Linked DNA regions of Homo sapiens: region 2 is linked to region 1. The links are contacts of gene promoters, found by promoter capture Hi-C in human tissues and cell types (Jung and others, 2019). All regions are on one chromosome and are shown on one strand. Each heading gives the region's core, a stretch centred on a gene start or on the middle of the fragment in contact. The rest is flanking DNA. Distances are from core to core; before and after follow the strand shown.

The links. The method cuts DNA at HindIII sites, captures the fragments that hold promoters and counts their contacts. A contact is called where the count stands out against the background at its distance.
Region 2: a fragment that was not itself captured here is called in contact with the fragment with the promoter of HSPB8 in region 1 in 2 of the 25 tissues and cell types used here (pancreas and thymus).

Annotation. Positions count from the first base shown.
Region 1 is chr12:119,177,616-119,181,354 of GRCh38, forward strand. It overlaps HSPB8 (heat shock protein family B (small) member 8), which reads left to right and starts at 1,316. Exons shown (of 3, transcript NM_014365.3): 1 at 1,316-2,064. The coding sequence starts at 1,698. HSPB8-AS1 (HSPB8 antisense RNA 1) reads right to left here. Exons shown (of 3, transcript XR_007063482.1): 3 at 3,552-3,739. RefSeq lists an enhancer at 919-1,668. The HindIII fragment of the contact is 13,927 bases long and covers 1-3,739 here.
Region 2 is chr12:119,010,330-119,013,888 of GRCh38, forward strand. The region is part of intron 1 of SRRM4 (serine/arginine repetitive matrix 4); the gene reads left to right. Among named protein-coding and RNA genes, the nearest start is that of SRRM4, 31 kb to the left of the region's middle. The HindIII fragment of the contact is 5,955 bases long and covers 1-3,559 here.

The DNA.
Region 1 (3,739 bases), core at 66-2,565:
TTGATTGACCAAACATTAATCGGATTTCTGAATCTTCTCCTAAGCCCATCAGTGAGGTTCCTTATAAAAATTCAGTTTTGGGCCAGGCGAGGTGGCTCACGTCTGTAATCCCAGCACTTTGGGAGGTGGAGGCAGGTGGATCATGAGGTCAGGAGTTCAAGACCAGCCTGGCCAAGATGGTGAAATCCAACTCTACTAAAAAATACAAAAATTAGCCGGGCACGATGGCGGGTGCCTATAATCCCAGCTACTCGGGAGTCTGAGGCAGAAGAATCGCTTGAACCTGGAAGGCGGAGGTTGCAGTGAGCGGAGATGGCGCAACTGCGCTCTAGCCTGGGGGACAGAGTGAGACTCTGTCTCAAAAAAAAAAAAGAAAAGAAAGAAAGAAAAATTCAGTTTTGGCATGAACTCTGCTAAGTCTGTTTAGTAGCAACCACCCATCTTCGATTTCTGATCACCCTCGATATCTGATTAGTTTCCTCATCCTCCGCGGTCCCCCAGGTGATGTCTGAGCACCCTGGCCTGTCTTCAGCAAGAATCCTCTTAGGTTAGCTGAGCCCGAATCCCTCTGACTCCTGGACTTCCCTCCTAGTAAATTTCCATTCGCTGACCCCCCACCTGCTTCTTGGCTACAAATTCACACTTACCCATGACCTACTGGGAATCAAGTCTAATCTTTCTCCCTCACTGCAAAATCCCATTGCAGGGGTCCCTACATCTATGGAGAAAGTTTCCCTGCCCAGTAAAGTCTTGCTTGTCATACTTTAACAAGCGTCATATGAATATATATATACACATTAAAAAAATTTTTTTTTTCCTTTACCAATCTCCCCAGAGGGCATTGAGGCTCTAGGAGCTTGGCCATCTTGTAAGTGGGGATTGCAACCCAGGGCCATCCTTCAAATCCACTGGGCTCCTGTCTCTCTCTTCCCTTTCTGCAGGTCCCCAGGGGAAAGGCAGGATACGACACGCTCTAGGGAAGGTATTTCCAGAGGGTGACCTGAGCCCTCAGCCAGGCTCGGGGTTATTAATAGCCAGGCCTTAGTGCCCCGCTCGGGGAGGGCGGCTCCAGCTCCTGGAGCAAGAGGAGGGCGGAGCTGAGCGGAGTGGCCAGGGGAGGAGAGAGTGTCCGGAGAGGCCGGCTGAACTTGGACGCGGCCCCTCCCAGCTCCCCCCACAGCCCAGCTGTTCCCTCCGCGGATTCTCCGGGGCTGGTTCATCACCTCCGAATATTCCTGTGACAGGAGACGCTTGCAAAACCCGCCTCCAGCCTCCAGCAGCAAATAAATAGAAGGCTTGCAGCCCAGAAGGAGCCAGAAGAAGTTTCTAGGCGCGCGTGCCCTGGGTTTATTAAGCTCCTGGCTCCGCTCTAGACCTCAGCGGTTCTGGCTGCCAGCCTGGGCAGCCTGGGAAGCCTGGGAGGACGGTGGCTTGCCGGTCTGTCGTGAGGCAGTGCGGACGGGGACCCTCTGGGATTCTGCTGGATCTGCCCCGGGGGTTACCTTTGGGGGCTGGGACCCCAGTCGAGGGGACACAACCGTCCCTGGCAGTGGTTGGTTCTGCTTCTCCCTGCAGAAAAGCAGCATTTTCGGAAGCTGAAGAATAAGCTAGCCCAGCCACACCACCTTGTTGTGTGACCTTGGGCAGGTGGTTCTGTCTCTCTGAGCCTCTGTTTCTCTCTGAGCTGAGCAGCCACCATGGCTGACGGTCAGATGCCCTTCTCCTGCCACTACCCAAGCCGCCTGCGCCGAGACCCCTTCCGGGACTCTCCCCTCTCCTCTCGCCTGCTGGATGATGGCTTTGGCATGGACCCCTTCCCAGACGACTTGACAGCCTCTTGGCCCGACTGGGCTCTGCCTCGTCTCTCCTCCGCCTGGCCAGGCACCCTAAGGTCGGGCATGGTGCCCCGGGGCCCCACTGCCACCGCCAGGTTTGGGGTGCCTGCCGAGGGCAGGACCCCCCCACCCTTCCCTGGGGAGCCCTGGAAAGTGTGTGTGAATGTGCACAGCTTCAAGCCAGAGGAGTTGATGGTGAAGACCAAAGATGGATACGTGGAGGTGTCTGGTAAGTCAGGGGCAGGAGGGAGAGAGAATGGGGAGGCCGGGATGTAGCCCTCAGCCCTGGGAATAGCCAGAGAAAGTTTCCTGGGAGCTGACGTTGGGACAGTGTGACACAGGTGACCTCAGGGCTCAGGAATGCAGCCTGCAAAGTTATCTTTACGGAAAACTTCTCTCCCGGCTCCCAGCAGAGATCTTAACCTGCCTGACTCAGCTATTGGGGCCTCTGGGTGCTCATCAATCATGGTACAGACAGGAAAATAGAAACCATGTTGGATATTTTGACAGAGGGCATTTAATATAAAGAATAGGTTAAGCAGATATCAAAGAATTAAAAAACAAAGAAGAAACGGGATTTTGTGCACTCCAGCATCATAACAGAGTCTAGAAGTGCACGTTAAGGCTGAACAATGATAGTGTTAATAACCGCAACTGGTTTCCGGTGAAACACCTCTCCTTGTCCCAGACAGGGAAACTGAGGCTTACCAGTAATTGTAGTAACACTAACTGGTAACTCTGAGTGCTAACTATTCGCTCAGCACTTTGCTAACTGCTGTTGCCTATAATATCTCAGCTAATACCACAACCAGAGGAGGTGGGTACTGTTTATCTTCTTTTTTCAGATGAGGAAACTGAGGCACGGAGAGATTAAAGTAACTTGTTCAAGGCCACCAAGGAGTCAGACCCAGGTTGTCTGGGAATTAGGAGGCCAGAAAGAAGAAGTGATGATTTACTGAGCACCTACTAGGTGCCAAGGGTGGGCTGACATTCTTATACTTCTCCAAAATCATCCTCAGTCCACTCCAGGGTAGCAGGGTAGGCCCATCTTGCAGCTGAGGAGGCTGAGGCCTAGGTGGGACTCGTTCACAGTCATGCCATGAGTCAGCAATAGGAGTGGAGTAGGGACTGGGCCTATGCACAGCTTTAGGCCCAGGGCTCTCACTGCCGCATCCCACCCTGGGAGAAATAAACATACTAGGGGGAAAAATGAGAGAAGACAGGAAGCTCAGCCCCTGTGAAGCTGGGCAGTAGAAAAATCTTTCTTTTCCTTCCCTCCTGATTAACACTCCATTAAAAAGAATGTGTTCCCGGCAGAGGCTTGCCTTCCAGAAAATCAGTCAAAGCCATTGCAAACACAGGCTGGGCAGGAACAAGCCCCAGCAGCATTCAGGGGGAGTTTCAAGCCAGTCCTGGTAGAATTATAAACATCAGAGGCTCCAGCGGGTGTGGTGGGCTGGGAGACACGCTGGGGCCACGTGCTGATGACAGGGTCAGCCAGATTTCTGAGTTGGCTGGGGAGCAGGGCATGAGTTCCGAAACTGGCTCCAACTTTAACCAGCAGGATGTGCAAATTACTTCACTTTGTGCTTCTGTTTTGTTTCCTCATCTGGAAATTAGGGTTCAAATGGTTATACCATAAGGATTGTTGTTTTAAGTGAGGTGATGCTGTAAAATGTGTACATACCTGTGAACCCAGAAAATCTGAGACAGATCTCAGTTCATTTAGGAAGTTTATTTTGCCGAGGTTGAGGACACTCCCATGACACAGCCTCAGGAAGTCCTCCTGTCACATGCCCAAGGTGGTCTGGGCACAGCTTAATTTTATACATTTTAGAGAGACATGAGACATCAATCAATATATGTAAGAAGTACATTGGTTCGATCTAGAAATGCAGGACAAC
Region 2 (3,559 bases), core at 720-3,219, 170 kb before region 1:
GGCATGAGCCACTGTGCCCAGCCTCAGAAAATATTTTCTGAGATGAATCATTGCGAACCCCACATATATTAAGTGGTTGAAGATGAAAAGTGTCAGCCCTTACATGGGAGGCCAACAAGGGGTTTGTCCACTTTGAGAGTTCTCTTTGTTCAATCAGAGTTTAAACTACACATTTTGTACCCTCCAGATCGATTAAAACTAAAAACAGTGTGGTAATATCACATTTTGGCAAAGATATCTGGGAATACGTACACTCATACATTGCTGTTAGGAGTGTAAACTGTTGCAGCCTTTTGGGAATATGATATTTCAGCATTTATCAAAAATTTTAAAAAATCTGCCTACTCCATGACCAGCTCTTGATGTCAACACTAAAGGAAAAAGGAGGTGAGTTCAAGAGTGTTTATTGCAGCCATGTTTGTTATCAGGAAGAATCTGCAAACAGCCCAGATGCTCTTAATTAGGAAAATGGCTAAATAAATTATGAAATATGCATAATTATGGAATACAATACAACAGTTGAAAAAATGCAGTAAATTCATGTGTATTAAACATAGATCTCTAAAAGACTGTGACAGGAAAAAGCAAACTGTGGGATGACACACAAGTTGTAATGTTATTTTATATAATACATGTAGGAAAAAGCATCTATCTATGTATACAAAAGAACACTATGTACTCTATATAAATATATATGTGTAGAAAAATGCTTCAAAGGATGTACACCAAACTGTCAATGACAGCATCACATATGAAGAAGAGGGGGATATTTTAGCTTTATCTCTGTGACTACATATTTAATAAAAAATGTTTTCATCATTCACAAGCTTTCCTCCTGTGTTAGTTATGTATACAAACATGAATTTGAAAAAAAAGGAAGAGTAGGTGGAAGACACATACATGGCAAAAAACAAATAAACAAAGTACTATGAAGAAGATTAGATTTCTATAGTCAGGTTTTTCAACCTTGGCACTACTGACATTTAGGGCCAGCCAGATAATACTTCCTTGTGGGGAGCTGTCCTGTGCACTGCAGGATGTTTAGCAGCATCTCTGGCCTCTACCCACTAGATGTCATTAGCACCACCCTCCCTTTGGGCTGTGACAATCAAACATGTCTCTAGACCGTGCCAAATGTCCCCTGGGGAGCAAAGTTGCCACTGGTTGAGAATCACTCATCTAGAGATACATTTCCATCTACCCCTAGATGATCTAGTCAGAAAAATCTGAAATGCTGAAAACCTCAGGACCATTAAGACAACGTTTGCAAATCAAGAGATGTCTAAGACTTTGGAAATTAAAAAAATAAAATAAAAGCCACATTGGTTTGTGTCTCCTGCCTTCCCATGGGTTTGGGGCGTGGCAGAGCTGCACAGTGAAAGGAGGAGCATGTGATTGGAGTCTGACAGTGCTAAGCTCCCTGAGTCTGTCCCTTCTACAAAATAGGGAGACCAGTGCCATTGCCGAGTGTCAGTTGTGGGCATCTTACTGCACATAGCTTGAGCCTTGGAATTGGAAGACCTGGTTGCCAATCTCAGCTGGGCAACATTGGGCAGGCCACTTTGCCTTCCTCAGCTCTAAGCTCACCTGTAAAATGGGGATGATGGTAGTGTCCACCTCATAGGTTGAATTTGAGGATTAAGTAAGGTAACATCTGCAAGCATTTAGCACTGTCCTGATATCTAGTTAAGTGCTCAGTAAATGGTTGCCATAATGCTCTTGGTGACAATGTTTGTAAATTGTATATTAGACAGTGTCCTGATATAAATCAATAGTTTTTACATGGAAAAAGAGGACCAGAGCTTTTCTTTTTCACCTCCCTGGGATCATCGTCTGGGAATTCAGATGTCTGCCCTGAAATGAAAGGGCACCATTCATTCATTCGTGCAGCAAGGGTTTATAATTTGCTGACCAAGGGCCACTTCCTTAAGATAGAGATGAATGAGTCCTCCCCATGGGGGGATGGAAACGCTGCATCATGACCTGGCATCTGAACTGGACTCACCTGGGGGTCTTTTTCATCAAGGTTGCCATGATATATCTCCCGAGAGGATATCCCCTGACTTAGCAACATTCCTCAGAGACAAAGCTTTCTGTGAACTCTGTGAATTCTTCTCTCCTGGCCACATTCCCTGCCCCCATACTCAGCCTTTCCCCACTTTGGAACTGTAGGGCAAATTTATAACAATTATAAGAACACAGTTTTCTCTTGTTGTTCTCATTCTTCTACCTGTCTGTTCTTTTCTTTCTCAACTAACAGACTCCCCCAAGATGATCTTTGTCTACCACTGAGTCCCGCTCTCTTTCTTCAAGGGCACTCCTGCTCTCTGAGCCAAATTCTTCCTTCAGCCACATGTGGTCTCTATCCTTGTTCTTTAACCCATGATTCTTTGATATTTCTCTGCAAAGACCCTACAATGTTCCTTTATTTTTATGTGGTCAGATACTTCTCACTTGTGCATTTCCGCTTTTCTTGTCTCTATTGATACTTCCTCTGTTTGGTGATTTTCTCTGTTGATATTTACTACATCTTCATTGACTCCTACCCAAGACACAGACAGACCCAATTACCCTCTAAACCTTAGGGAAGGCGCCAAAGAAAAATTTCACCAGGTGTTTTACATCAACCTGGGAGGTAATGCTATTTACTCTCAGCATGCACTAGGCCACAGGTGGAATTAGCAGAAGGAAAGGTGAATGCTGGATCACCCTCCAGCATCTCCAGATATGCCTTCACAGTGGGGAAACATCATTATTGTTTCCTTAACTAAGTTAAGTGACATGATCTTCAAGAATACTAGATCAATGTTTGCACATGAGTAACAAACAAAATTTTGGAGTCAATCAGGCTGTTTCCTTTCTGTACCATTTTGCCCCTCCTGTAGCATAAAGAATGTCAACAACAACAAATCTGTAGCATTTCCAGTTCAGAGATGAGAAAAATCAGGCCCAGAGAGGCTAAGCAATTAACCCAGTGCAACACAGCCAAAACAGAACATGAACCAGGGTTAAGATTCAAATGATATGATTTTCAGATTTTAAGTTCAGTACTGAATGATCTGCTTTCTTCTAAATATTTTGTAAATGAGTTTTAATCATAAAAGTTACACATGACAATGGTTTATAAAAAGTACTGCAGAAGTATTAAAAAACCCCAAAATTTCCTTCATCTTAACTTTGTACTCCTTTCTTTTAGACACAACTACTATTGTGCTTTCTAATGTATTCTTCCAGAAATATTTTATATGAAAATACAATGTATTATGCTGGGAAACTTGCCTTTTCTTCTTAACTTTGTATTTTGGATTTTTAAAATATATGACTGCATTTAGAACTACCCTGTTATTTTTTTAATGGCTGCATTATATTTGATTGTATAGATGTATCATTTATTTAATCAATATCCTATTGATTTATAATCAGGTTGTTTTCAGGATTTTTGCTGTAACAAACAGTACTACTGTAAACATTTTGGTACATTTATTTTGGCCTACCTTGGAGGGTATATCTATACTATAAATTCCTAGAAACGGAATTGTTAGAAATTTCCAGAAAATGA